Regions from separate parts of the Homo sapiens genome. Here region 2 is linked to region 1. The links are contacts of gene promoters, found by promoter capture Hi-C in blood cells and fetal thymus (Javierre and others, 2016). All regions are on one chromosome and are shown on one strand. Each heading gives the region's core, a stretch centred on a gene start or on the middle of the fragment in contact. The rest is flanking DNA. Distances are from core to core; before and after follow the strand shown.

Region 1 (6,865 bases), core at 3,156-5,655:
ATATATTTGTTTTCTTTTTGAGATGGAGTCTCACTCTGTCACCCAGGCTGGAGGGCAGTGGCATGATCTCAGCCCACTACAACCTCTGCCTCTGGGGTTCAAGCCATTCTTGTGCCTCAGCCTCCCAAGTAGCTGGGATTACAGGCATGTGTCACCACACTCGGCTATGTTTTATATTTTTAGTAGAGATGGGGTTTCTCCATGTTGGCCAGGCTGCTCTTGAATTCCTAGGCTCAAGTGATCTACCTGCCTCAGTCTCCCAAAGTGCTGAGAATACAGGCTGAGCAACTGTGCATGGCCCATTTCCACTATTAATGAAACCTGTCTATAAGCCATTAAAGCCTTCATCCCCAAGTCTACATACTGAGGGAAATCAAAATTAAAACAAGGCTGGGCATGGTATCTCGTGCCTATAATCCCAGCACTTTGGGAGGTCAAGGTGGGAGGATCATTGAGGCCAGGAATTCTAGACCAGCCTGGACAACATAGCAAGACCCTGTTTCTACCAAAAAATTAGCTGGGCATGGTAGCATGCTCCTGTAGTCCCAGCTACTTGGGAGTCTGAGGTGGGAGGATCCCTTGAGCCAGGGAGGTCTAGGCTGCAGTGAGCTACGATTGTACCACTGCACTCCAGCCTGGGCAATAGAGCAAGACCCTGCCTCTACAAATCTCTCTCTCTCTCAATCTCTCTCTCCCCTCCCCGATCTTATGTCAGTTAATGACTCAAACTTTATAGTATTAAGAATCCTGAGGAAATGACCTAACCTTTCTAAATAGCTGAGTTTGGGCTGAAGACATTTCAGGAACAATTATAAAGAAGTCACCATGTATTAGATACTTTTGGTTCTTTAAGCTACTTAATTCTTGCTTGAAAATGGGTCATCAGCCGGGCACCGTGGCTCCCACCTGCAATCTCAGCACTTTGGGACACCAAGGCAGGAGGATTGCTTGAGCTCAGGAGTTCAAGACCAGCCCGGCCAACATAGTGAGACCCTGTCTCTACAAAGAAATAAAAAATTAGCCAGGCATGGTGCTACTTGGGAGGCTGAGGTGGGAGGATCACTTGAGCCTGGGAGGCAGAGGCTGCAGTGAACTATGATCGTGCCACTGCACTCCAGCCTGGATGACAGAGCAAGACCGTGTATCAAATAATAATAAAAGGAAAAAATTTAAAAGGGTCATGGTGGCATTATATGGCAAGGTAGGAACACATTTGGGAATCATTGAGCCCATCATACTGTTGCCCCATCGCTAGGCAGTTCCTGCCTGTAAAAACTTTTGTACCTTTCTCTCTTCTCTTTGGCAGGCCCTTCCTGTTGCTGTGAAGACTCAATTCCTTCGTTCTCACTGATTTCCTTTAATTTTCAGTGGTCCTAGAAGCCGGACAGCTTCATTGTTGGAATAGGTTACTGTAAGAGTGATTTGGTTCCTGGGCCAGGCACGGTGGCTCATGCCTGTAATCCCAGCACTTTGGGAGGCCGAGGCAGGGGGATCATGAGGTCAGAAGATCGAGACCATCCTGGCCAACATGTTGAAACCCCATCTCTACCAAAATGCAAAAAAAAAAATTAGCCGGGCATGGTGGTACACACCATGGTAGGCTGAGGCAGGAGAATTGCTTGAACCCAGGAGGCAGAGGTTGCAGTGAGCCAAGATCACGCCATTGCACTCCAGCCTGGTGACAGAGCAAGACTCCATCTCAAAAAAAAAAAAAAAAAAAAAAAAAGTGATTTTGTTCCTGATGGTGGCCTAACCAGGCTGCTGTGACCCTGTGCTTCCCTCGTTCTCCTAATCAGGCTTCTGGATTCCCAAGGTGGAGCTAAACTTATACGATGCCAGTCAAGATACAGAGATGGGGGGCTGGGAGCAGTGGCTCATGCCAGTAATCCCAGCACTTTGGGAGGCCAAGACAGGCAGATCACTTGAGGCCAGGAGTTTGAGACCAGCCTGGCCAACATGGCAAAACCCTGTCTCCACTAAAAATACAAAAAATTAGCCAGGCGTAATTGTGCACACCTGTAATCCCAGCTACTTGGGAGGCTGAGGCAGGAGAATCGCTTGAACCTGGGAGGCAGAGGTTGCAGTGAGCCAAGATCACACTGCTGCACTCCAGCCTGGACTATGAAGCAAGTCTTCATCTCAAAAATAAAAAGATACAGAGATGGAGGACAGAGCTTGCAACACAAAACTATGTGACCAAAGAAGCCGAGTGAATGTTAGAATCCATATACACAGCACACACCCCCCGTCCCCAGCCCTTGGGCTCAACCTGGAAGCAAGAACAGCCTGGACTTCTCAGTTCCAAGTCCTATTTCTACAAGGCATGCCTGTTGGCCATACCTATATGCTAACGTTTTAGCTCCTTGGTAAGCCTCATTGACGTGAGCAGCTGTAAACACCTGTATACTGGCCCTTGAGGAAGCAATCCAGCTCCTCGGAGATAAATAGCAGCCTGGTTTTTTATTTTTTTCAGACGAAGTCTCACACTGTCGCCTGGATGGAGTGCAGTGGCACAATCTCGACTCACTGCAACCTCCACCTCCCAGGTTCAAGCAGTTCTCCTGCTTCAGCCTCCCAAGTAGCTGGGATTACAGGCCCCCGCCACCATGCACATCTAATTTTTTGTATTCTTAGTACAGACAGGGTTTCACCATGTTGGCCAGGCTGGTCTCGAACTCCTGACCTCAAGTGATCACTTTGGCCTCCCAAAGTGCTGGAATTACAGGTGTGAGCCATCATGCCCAGCCCAGCCTGGTTTTTTATTTGGTTTTGTTTTAGAGACAGGGTCTGGCTCTGTCACCCAGATTGGAGTGCAGTGGCACAATCACAGTTCACTGCAGCCTTGAACTCCTGGGCTCAAGCAATCCTCCTGCCTCAGCCACCAGAGTATCTGAGACTACAGGCACACACCACCACACCTGGCCGATTTTTTGTTTTTGTAGAGTTGGAGGTCTTGGTATGTTACCCAGGCTGGTCTAGAACTCCTATCTTCAAGCGATCCTCCCACCTTGGCCTCCCCCAAAGTACTGGGAACACAGGCATGAGCTACCATGCCCAGCTAAGCAGCCCTGTTTTATGGATGAAGAAACTGGGGTTCTGAAATTAAATAATTGCAAGATTCCACGGAAACTTTGATTTGATTCCACAGTTGTCTGGCTCCTAAGTCCACATGCTTTTGTCTTCTCCACCTTTAATATTTTATGATGAAAATAGCAAACATACAGAAAAGTTGGAAGGATAATTCAGGGAAACACCTAGTCATCTATCTAAAGAATCTTTTGCTATATTTGCCTTTTCAACCCATCTCTCCACCACCTCCCTGCCCCCCGCTATTTTTTTTTTGAGATGGAGTTTCTCTCTTGTCGCCCAGGCTGGAGTGCAGTGGCCTGATCTCAGCTCACTGCAACCTCTGCCTCCCAGGTTCAAGCAATTCTCCTGCCTCAGCCTCCCAAGTAGCTGGGATTACAAGTACAAGCCACCACACCCAGGTCATTTTTGTATTTTTAGTAGAGACGGGGTTACACCATGTTGGCCAGGATCGTCTTAACCTCCTGACCTTGTGATCTGCCCGTCTCAGCCTCTCAAAGTGTTGGGATTACAGGCATGAGCCACCGCGCCTGGTCTCTTCACCCCGCTTTTTATGCAGATTGCACTGGTCCCCAATAGAAGCAGGTGGGTGCTTCATACTCACAGACACATCTTTGCCTCGGTACTTAAATTTTCTCCGCCTCTCTTCTGGAGCATCTAAGGTCGGCATATTGACTGGAAGTAGTAAGTTACCTGCAGGTTGGACAGCAACAAAGAAATTTTCAGTGCCCATTGTGTGGGTTATTATGTCAGTATCATAAGGCTCTAACCCTTAAAGGGCTCACAGTGGAGCAAAGGGCAGACCCAGGAAGCTAGCTTTTTTTTTTTTTTTTTTTTTTTTTTTTTTTTTTTTTTTTGAGACAGAGTCTCGCTCTGTTGCCCAGACTTGAGTGCAGTGGGGGGATATCAGTTCACTGCAACCTCCGCCTCCCGGGTTCAAGTGGTTCTCCTGCCTCAGCCTCCCAGGTAGCTGGGACTATAGGCGCCTGCCACCACGCCCGGCTAATTTTTGTCTTTTTAGTAGAGACGGGGTTTCACCACGTTGGCCAGGCTGGTCTTGAACTCCTGACCTTGTGATCCGCCCACCTCGGCCTCCCAAAGTGCTGGGATTACAGGCATGAGCCACCGCTCCCAGCCAGCATTTTTTATTTTTTGGGACCAGAGAAGCTGAGTGAGAGTTAGAACCCATATACACAGCACAGACTCCCCGTCCCCAACCCTTGGGCTCAACCTGGCAGCAAGAACAACAGTCTGGACTTCTCAGCTCCATGTCCTATTTCTGCAAGACCTGCTTGTTGGCATCAGAGTCTCACTCTGTCACCCGGGCTGGAGTGCATTGGCACAATCACGGCTCACTGCAACCTTGACCTCCTGGACTCAAGTGATTCACCCACCTCAGCCTCTTGAGTAGCTGGGACTACAGGCATGAGCCACCACACATGACTCACTTTTTATTTATTTTATTTATTTATTTTTTGAGACAGAGTCTCACTCTGTCACCCAGGCTGGAGTGCGGTGGCGCAATCTTGGCTCACTGCAAGCTCCGCCTCCCGGGTTCACGCCATTCTCCTACCTCAGCCTCCCGAGTAGCTGGGACTACAGGCACCTGCCACCACGCTCAGCAAATTTTTTTGTATTTTTAGTAGAGACGGGGTTTCACCGTGTTAGCCAGGATGGTCTCTATCTCCTGACCTCGTGATCCACCCACCTCGGCCTCCCAAAGTGCTGGGATTACAGGCGTGAGCCACCGTGCCCGGCCACACCTGGCTTATTTTTGGTTTTGTTTGTTTTTGTAGAGTCGGCTTTTCACCACGTTGGCCAGGCTGGTCTTGAACTCCTGACCTTGTGATCCACCCACCTCAGCCTCCCAAAGTGCTGGGATTACAGGCATGAACCTGAAGTCAGCTTCTATAAGCATCACCACACCAGCTCAGTAGGCTGTGAACACTGTGGGAGCACCAAGACCACCAATGCTGGGCATAGCAGTAAAGGAAAGCTTTTAAAAGTGCTTTGGCTTCAACTGGGTCCTCAAATGAGGCAGATGGGCTGGTTGTCATATATAGAAGCCTTTCATGCCAGGTGCAGTGGCTCACACCTATAATCCCAGCACTTTGGAAGGCTGAGGCAGATGGATCACTTGAGGCCAGGAGTTCGAGATCAGCCTGGGCAACATGGGGAAACCCCATCTCTACTAGAAATACAAAAATTAGTCAGGCATGGTGGCGGACACCTATAATTCCAGCTATTTGGGAGGCTGAAGCAGGAGGATCACTTGAATCCGGGAGGCGGAGGTTGCAGTGAGCTGAGATTGCGCCACTGTACTCGAGCCTGGGCAACAGAGTAAGATTCCGTCTCAAAAAGAAAAAGAAAAGAAGGCTTTCACACGGTGTGTCTGAGGAGTTATAAATCAGGCATATGTACAGGGTGGTGAGGAGACCCGCCAAGGCTGCAACAGGAAAACCCCACACCCAATGCACCAGCACATGGGGTCAGGACAGTCTCAAGCACAAGTCACTGAGAATCCTTCAGTAGACTGCCTCCACCCCAGTCCAGACCACTATCACCTCTTACCCACACTACTGCAGTTGCCTTCCAGCTGGTCTCCCTGCTTCTCCCATTGCCTTATTCCAATCTGTTCTTTGCACAGAGTACATGTGATTGTGGATCACCTGAGGTCAGGAGTTCGAGACCAGCCAGACCAACATGGCGAAACCCTGTCTCTACTAAAAGTACAAAATTAGCCAGGCGTAGTGGCAGGCACCTGTAGTCCCAGCTACTCAGGAGGCTGAGACAGGAGAATCGCTTGAACCCAGGGGGCGGAGGTTGCCGTGAGCCAAGATCGCACCACTACACTCCAGCCTGGGCAACAGAGCGAGACTCCAACTCAAAAAAAAAAAAAAAAAAAAAAAAAAAAGAAAAAAATCTGATTAGTCAGGCACAGTGGCTCATGCCTGTAATCTCAACAACTTGAGAGGTTAAGGTGGAGACTTGCTTAAGGCCAGGTGTTCAAGACCAGCTTGGGCAACAAAGCAAGACCCCCGTCTCTACAAAAAATATAAAAATAAGCTGGGCATGGTGGCACATACCTGTAGTCCCAGCTACTTGAGGCTGAGGTGGGAGGATTTCTGGAGCCCAGGAAGTCAAGGCTGCAGTGAGCCACGATTGCACCACTGCACTCCAGCCTGGACAGCAGAGCCAGACCCTGTCTCCAAAACAAACAAACAAAAAAAAGAAAAAATCAAGGAGAATCTGATCTAACTCTCCTGCTTAAAAAAACTCTCCTGGCTACCCAATGAGTTTAGAAGAAAATTCACTTTCTGCACTGGCCCCAGCCCACTTCACCTCCAACAACTCTTTCCTTGATCATTGTGTTCTAGACCCCTGGGCTTCATTATCAAGTGTTCCAGGTTCATTGTACTCGGGCCTTTGAAGTAGCTGCTCTGCCCAGGATCTCTGCACACTTGGCTCCTCTTCATTCAGTCTCTGCTTAAACATCTCTGAAAGCCCTTTTAACTGTCTTCCCAGTCTTATTTTCTTCTCAGCTTTAACCACTGCCTGATATTTTCTTGTTTGTCCAACTTCCTCTCCTCCTACTCCCCATGGTAACAGTACTGTGTCTTAGGCAGGGATTTCTTACCTCTTTCACAACACATGACAAAGTAGGTACTCAAATATTTGTCAAGGGAGGGTACTGTGTGATACGAGACAGGGAGTTGGCCCTCAGTTAGAGGTGGTTATTCAAATCAGGCCAAGTTTGAACTTTTTTTAAATTGGAGGG
Region 2 (7,025 bases), core at 2,718-5,217, 150 kb before region 1:
CTGGCCTCAAACTCCTGGGCTTGAGCAATCCTCCCACCTCAGCCTCAGAGTAGCTAGACTACAGGCATGTGCCACTGAGCCCAGTTTTTATTTCTTAAGAACATTCTGACTTAAGTTTAATAAAGACACAGAGAGGCCGGGCACAGTGGCTCACACCTGTAATACCAGCACTCTGGGAGGCTAAGGCGGGCGGATCACCTGAGGCTGGGAGTTCCAGACCAGTCTGGCCAACATGGCAAAACCCCGTCTCCACTACAAATACAAAAAATTACCCAGGCGTGGTGGCAAGCAGCTGTAACTCCAGCTACTCAGGAGGCTGAGGCAGGAGAATCGCTTAAACGCGGGAGGCGGAGGTTGCAGTGAGCTAAGATCATGCCACTGCACTCCAGCCTGGGCGACAGAGCAAGACTCCGTGTCAAAAAAAAAATGAATAAAGACACAGAGAGTACTTTCAGTATCTGCAAAGTCTAAGTGAATCTAAATATTTATTCTCTATCTTTACTATGAACAAGACTTTTATAAAGTTGTTTTCAGTTACTCATTTTTCTCCCTGGCACATCCCGCCACAAAGAAAAAAGAAATTACACGCAGGAAAGCATTCGGTGAGAACTTTTTCATGATGGTAGATTTCAGGGTGTATGTCTGCACTATTCATTTATCTTGGGTCAGGTCTACACAGGACAATACCTAAAAGATTTGGAGTGAGAATCACTCCAGTGTGCTGCAGAGAGACCTTTTTTTTTTTATTCCATGCAGCAGTGCTTCCAAGTCAATATCTGAGTTACCCTAAAACACTAATACAAGTGGGTGGATAATAGGATGAGTTATTTAACAGCTAAATCACTTCCAACAGACTGCCTCTAGCCAACACTTTGTAACATTAGCACACTTTAATTTTTCATTCTAAATAATGCAGTCCCCTGACTGTACAAATCATATTACATGGAATTCTTCACAACTCTATGCTTTTTACATATATGATGGGGCTTCCAGAAGAAACTATTTCCCAACTCCTGTATGTGTGGCCACCATTCTTATTATCTACCCTTGGATAATACGGTCAAAAATGTATTGTCCATAAATGTGATGATTAAAATTACATTTAAAATTCTAACCCTAAATCTTTCTGTACCCGAGTCATTTTTACTCAACTTTAAAAGCCAAGAGAAGGGGGCCGGGCATGGTGGCTCACGCCTGTAAGCCCAGCACTTTGGGAGGCCAAGGCGGGCAGATCACTCGAGGTCAGGAAATCGAGACCAGCCTGGCCAACATGGTGAAACTCCGCCTCTACTAAAAATACAAAAATTAGCCAGGCGTGGTGGCACACACCTGTGGTCCCAAGTACTCGGGAGGCTGAGGCAGGAGAATCGCTGGAACCTGGGAGGCGGAGGTTGAGGTGAGCTGAGATCTCACCACTGCACTCCATCTCAAAAAAAAAAAAACCAAAAAAAAAAAAAAGCCAGGAGAAGGGAATTAGATAAAATAATAAAAACTACACAAGACAAAACTTCCTAGTACTGAAGAGAAGGCCCCGTACGTGGTCTGTCCTCTGAGGCCCGTCAGCATCGTCAGTGCCTGTATGTGAGTTCTCGGCGATGAAGGGTTGAATGTAAGTTCTGGAAAAGCATCTCTTTACACAGACAAGAAAGTTCTTACCCACTATCTGGCCACGAACTGCATCAGTATCTGAGGGGTTTAGTTTGCATAGATCCAAACGCTGGTCTGTAAACAAACAATTCAAAACTTAACCCAAGGAACGTGAACTAGGGAGGAAGGCAGGAATTCAGTATTCAGCGATCAAAACAAAAAACGATGCCTCCTAAGCTTTCTTTGGTTGCATTAAGAGGCAGGAAAGTGTTTGGTTCTTACATCCGGTATCTTTTAATCTGCTGATGGCATTGGAGAGCAGCCGCACACAGCCCAGGAAGCCAGCTCCCTGTTTCTTGTGAATTTTCTTATGGTTCCACACGCTAATGGTTATCGAATCCGTTTTCCCAACATATCTGGAAAGAAAGTGCAAAACTCATTTTTAATTGTGTTTGGTTTTTTTTGTTTTGTTTTTTTTTTTTTTTGAGATAGAATCCTGCTCTGTTGCCCCCAGGCTGGAGTGCAGTTGTGTGATCTCAGCTCACTGCAACTCCCAAGTTCAAGTGATTCTCCTGCCTCAGCCTCCCGAGTAGCTGGGACTACAGGCGTGCATCACCATGCCTGGCTAATTTTTGTATTTTTAGTAGAGATGGGGTTTCGCCATGTGGCCAGGTTGGTCTTGAACTCCTAACCTCAGGTGATCCACCTGCCTTGGCCTCCCAAAGTGCTGGGATTACAGGCATGAGCTACTATGCCCAGCTTTTAATTGTATTTCTGAATTATGATATCTCATTGAGATTTTCTCTTTAAGAAACCTTATAAAATAATGTTGCCTCTGTATTACACATGTAACAGGCATTTAATAAATACGTATCCATTAATTTCAACAAGCTGGGAAGAAGAACTACCTTGCTCCTTATGGAAGGGGCAAATGTAGATAACCACACGATGATAATAATCTTATAACAGACTTACTATATTTTATTTATTTTTATTTATTTTTTTATTTTTTTGAGACGGAATTTTGCTCTTGTCGCCCAGGCCGGAGTGCAATGGCGCAGTGTTAGCTCACTGCAACCTGTCTCCTGGGTTCAAGGAATTCTCCTGCCTCAGCCTCCCCAGCAGCTGAGATTACAGGCACCTGCCACCACACCTGGCTAATTTTTGTATTTTTAGTAGAGACGGGGTTTCACCATGTTGGCCAGGCTGGTCTCAACCTCCTGACCTCAGGTGATCTTCCTGCCTCGGCCTCCCAAAGTGCTTAGATTACAGGTGTGAGCCACTGCACCCAGCAAATTTACTATATTTTAATAGTCGCATAGGACAGTAACATGATTCATAAATTCTCACCAATTAGGTTTGATACAGAATACTGGTTTGCGACAAGGGACTACTTACAAACCTACGGATCTATTCAAAGTACACAAGAGGACACTAAGACATTAAACCTCCATTTACTGTCACTGCAAGTCAACGGAGAGAGGAACTCAACCCACTTACACAGCCTCAGTGTCACTGAAACTGAATCTTAGAATATAATTCTTAAAAATCCCACCCAAATACAGTATAATTTGTATTAACTAAAAGACAATAATCTTTCAGGATTACTTTGATGAAAATATCTTAGTAGGAACATGAAAACATGGGTGCATATAAAATAGTGGTCTTCACAGCCAGGTGCAGTGGCTCACGCCTATAATCCCAGCACTTCAGGAGGCCAAGGTGGATCACCTGAGGTCAGAAGGTCAAGACCAGCCTGGCCAACATGGTGAAACCCATCTCTACTAAAAATATAAAAATTAGCCAGGCATGGTGGCGGGTACCTGTAATCCCAGCTACTCGGGAGGCTGAAGATCGAGAATCGCTTGAACCCAGCAGGAGGAGGTTGCGGTGAGCCAAGATTGCGCCACTGCGCTCCAGCCTGGGCAACAGAGCGAGACTCTGTTTGAAAAAAAAATTTAATTTAATTTAAAAATAAAATAGGCCGGGCGCGGTGGCTCACGCCTGTAATCCCAGCACTTTGGGAGGCCGAGGCGGGCGGATCACGAGGTCAGGAGATCGAGACCATCCCGGCTAAAACGGTGAAACCCCGTCTCTACTAAAACTACAAAAAATAGCCGGGCGTAGTGGCGGGCGCCTGTAGTCCTAGCTACTTGGGAGGCTGAGGCAGGAGAATGGCGTGAACCCGGGAGGCGGAGCTTGCAGTGAGCCGAGATCCCGCCACTGCACTCCAGCCTGGGCGACAGAGCAAGACTCCATCTCAAAAAAAAATAAAATAAAATAAAATAAAATAAAATAAAATAAAATAAAATAAAATAAAATAAAATAAAATAGTGGTCTTCAAAGTACAATCCAGTTTTTGAATGACTATAAGAAATTGATGGCTTTGATCATATAAAACTATATTTTCTCTTGCAGAAAATATATATGTACTAAAAAGCAAAAATTTTCAAAGTCAACAGAAACATACAGTCATAATAATGAATTTTTTAGGCCTGGTACAGTGGCTCACGCCTGTAATCCCAGAACTTTGGGAGGCTGAGGCGGGTGGATCATGAGGTCAGGAGTTCGAGACCAGCCTGGCCAAGATGGTGAAACCCCGTCTCAACTAAAAATACAAAAATTAGTTGGGCATGCTGGCGGATGCCTGTAATTCCAGCTACTTGGGAGGCTGAGGCAGGAGAATCACTTGAATCCAGGAGGTGGAGGTCACAGTGAGCCGAGATCGCGCCACTGCACACTCTAGCCTGGGCGACAAAGCAAGACTCCATCTCAAAAAAAAAAAAAATGCATTTTTTAGGTAGAAACTACAACTAGGTTTAGGGTTTTGCTGAAAAACAGTAGCATGTGGAGTTCACAAACTATGGCCTTTTTTTCTGCTAAAATGGCCAGGAGATTGAAAAGTTTGAGGATCACATGTACAAAACCAAACCATAAAAATCTATGAACATGCCAAATGCAGTCGGGCGCAGTGGCTCACGCCTGTAATCCCAACACTTTGGGAGGCTAAGGTGGGCAGATCACTTGAGGTCAGGAGTTCAAGACCAGCCTGGCCAACATGGTGAAACCCCATCTCTACTAAAAAATACAAAAATTAGCTGGGCATGGTGGCATATGTCCATAATCCCAGCTACTTGGGAGGCTGAGGTAGGAGAATCACTTGTACCCGGGAGGCGGAGGTTGCAGTGAGCTGAGATCACGCCACCGCACTCCAGCCTGGGTGACAGAGTGAGACTCCGTCTCAAAAAAAAAAAAAAAAAAAGAAAAAAGAAAGTAACAAAATGCAAGAACTTCCAAGTACATGAATTCTAAAATTAGGCAATGTAGACATTCATTTGGCCATCCGCTTTTGTTATCAATAAAAAGTCATCCTTTTTTTTTTTTTCTCTTGGATGTTTCTCGTAAAAGGTAGACACCTGCTTTCCTGCCGCTCCGCATGGGGCTTACAGAACATTCAACTCACAGATCATAGTGCTGGTTCCACTTTGGGTCCAATGTGTTTTTCACAGTGTCGGTTGAGTGGCACTGCCCAGACCCATCCACGACAATCTTTGCAAAAGGGTCAGGGAGCCCTAGAGGAGAGAGGAGACCCACACCTAGATGAGACCTCACATCCATCCATGTGACACAGAACACACAATTCGTGTTCTCTAATTTCAGGATAATTTCAATCAGCAAAATAAGTTATGTCTATTGAGCTTTCTAAGAGAGCCTAGTATGCCTCCATACTCAGATTTTTAGAGGGTAGAAAAGAAAGTGACTGAAAAAAAAAAAGGCTTACATTCAAATTTCTATTAAAGTGGGGCTAATTAAGTGGAGGGAAAAGTGTCTGAAAGTAATTGTATTTAGACTTTCTAAAAATTAATAATGCCCCGAAATTTGTTTACTGATCTTTGCCTATCTTATCTATGGAAGCAAGTATTCACCAGGCCTTAATTCGGTAAGTCCCTAAATGCTAGAGAATGAATCAGAGAGGTTTATTAGATCAGACAGGTGGCAAAGTGGACAGTTGTCAGAGATAGAGATGGACACGAGCCACCATGCTGGAGCTTCCTGGCTACCTGGAGAAAGCCTTTGAGCCTAAGTTTCTTCATCTTGAAAGCATGAATAATACCACTTAAGAACTGAAAGATGTCTTGTGAGGATCAGAAAGTGTGTGAAGAATTTAATGCTGCAGGCACTGACCAGATACTGCATGACTTTCTTAAGGAGTGATTCCTTCCTTTAGAAAAGGAGTCTCTTATTTTTGCAATTCCTTTAATTATAGGGTGTTGTAAATGTGATTTAATTTATAAAATCTGATTAACAATTGTATGCAAATCCAGCTGTTTTATACAAAAGTATTTCATTTGTATTAGAGCTGAGAATACATCATCCAGCAGAAAGCAATATTCTAATAGGTAGAGAGGCAGAAAAAATTGGGTGTGACCAGAATAGGAAACGAAAGACAGGTTTTGCGGTATGATTTATAAGTTCTGTATATTTCAGCTAAGGAACTACCCATGTTGTAGTCAACCGGGAAATAAAGCTTGGAGAACCATGGATTTCTATTAAGTAAAGGGCAAAACTTTGAAGAGAATATACCCAATCTTTTTTTAAAGTTTAAAATTTCAGAAATACATGCATAACATTATAAGAGGGAAAAAAATAAGTGTTTACTTACTGAAGAAGTCTTTCTTTGCAAGGTTCTTGGCACATAACACTAAAAACAAAGAAAAATTACTCAGGTTAGCATTAAAGACGAGATTTCCATAATAGCTAATCTATATTTACACCCGAACAAAAAGACTCTAAAAATTAGCTTTGCCGAAGATTTGACTTTCAAATCTAGTATCATATGAAACAAAAAATGGACAACCATCTAAAAAGTGTTTTCTCCTCAAACTGAAGATCAGCTATAACAAATACAAAATGCTTTAAACTAAAAATCTTAAACACATTCAGATGGGTTGATCAATATACTTTTTTTTTTTTTAAGAGATAAGGTCTTGCTCTCTTGCCCAGGCTGGAGTGCAGGGGCATGATCATAGCTCATTGCAGCCTCGAACTCCTGGGTGATTCAAGCAATCCTCTTGCCTCAGCCCTCCCAGTAGCTAGGATTATAGGCACACGCCACCATGCCTGGCTAAATGTTCTTATTTTTGTAGAGATAGGGCCACTGCACCCAGCCTACCGATATTCTCTTATACTGCATATGATCACATAAAAACCAACTCAAATAAAGACCTGAAGTATTTATCCTTACAGGTACCGCTAATGACAGAAGAAGCTATGCAATTTTTTATTCTGATAAGTAATACAATTTTGTAAATGTAAACTTTGATATGTTGGAAAATAGTAAGCAAGGGGAAGGTGGTAAAAAAAAATATGGGGCCATCATCAGGGTAGTGTGAACAAAAAATGATAAAATGCACGTTAAGAACTTAGCACAGGCTGGG

The links. The method cuts DNA at HindIII sites, captures the fragments that hold promoters and counts their contacts. A CHiCAGO score of 5 or more calls a contact.
Region 2: a fragment that was not itself captured here is called in contact with the fragment with the promoter of KPNA7 in region 1 in 1 of 17 cell types (naive CD4 T cells); the score reaches 5.4 in naive CD4 T cells.

What each region holds. Positions count from the first base shown.
Region 1 is chr7:99,203,710-99,210,574 of GRCh38, forward strand. It overlaps KPNA7 (karyopherin subunit alpha 7), which reads right to left and starts at 4,406. Exons shown (of 11, transcript NM_001145715.3): 1 at 4,319-4,406; 2 at 3,692-3,780. The coding sequence starts at 3,757. The HindIII fragment of the contact is 12,895 bases long and covers 1-5,081 here.
Region 2 is chr7:99,055,549-99,062,573 of GRCh38, forward strand. It overlaps SMURF1 (SMAD specific E3 ubiquitin protein ligase 1), which reads right to left. Exons shown (of 18, transcript NM_181349.3): 2 at 6,251-6,289; 3 at 5,051-5,159; 4 at 1,870-2,003; 5 at 1,657-1,722. Among named protein-coding and RNA genes, the nearest start is that of SMURF1, 85 kb to the right of the region's middle. RefSeq lists a silencer at 38-332. The HindIII fragment of the contact is 4,291 bases long and covers 1,823-6,113 here.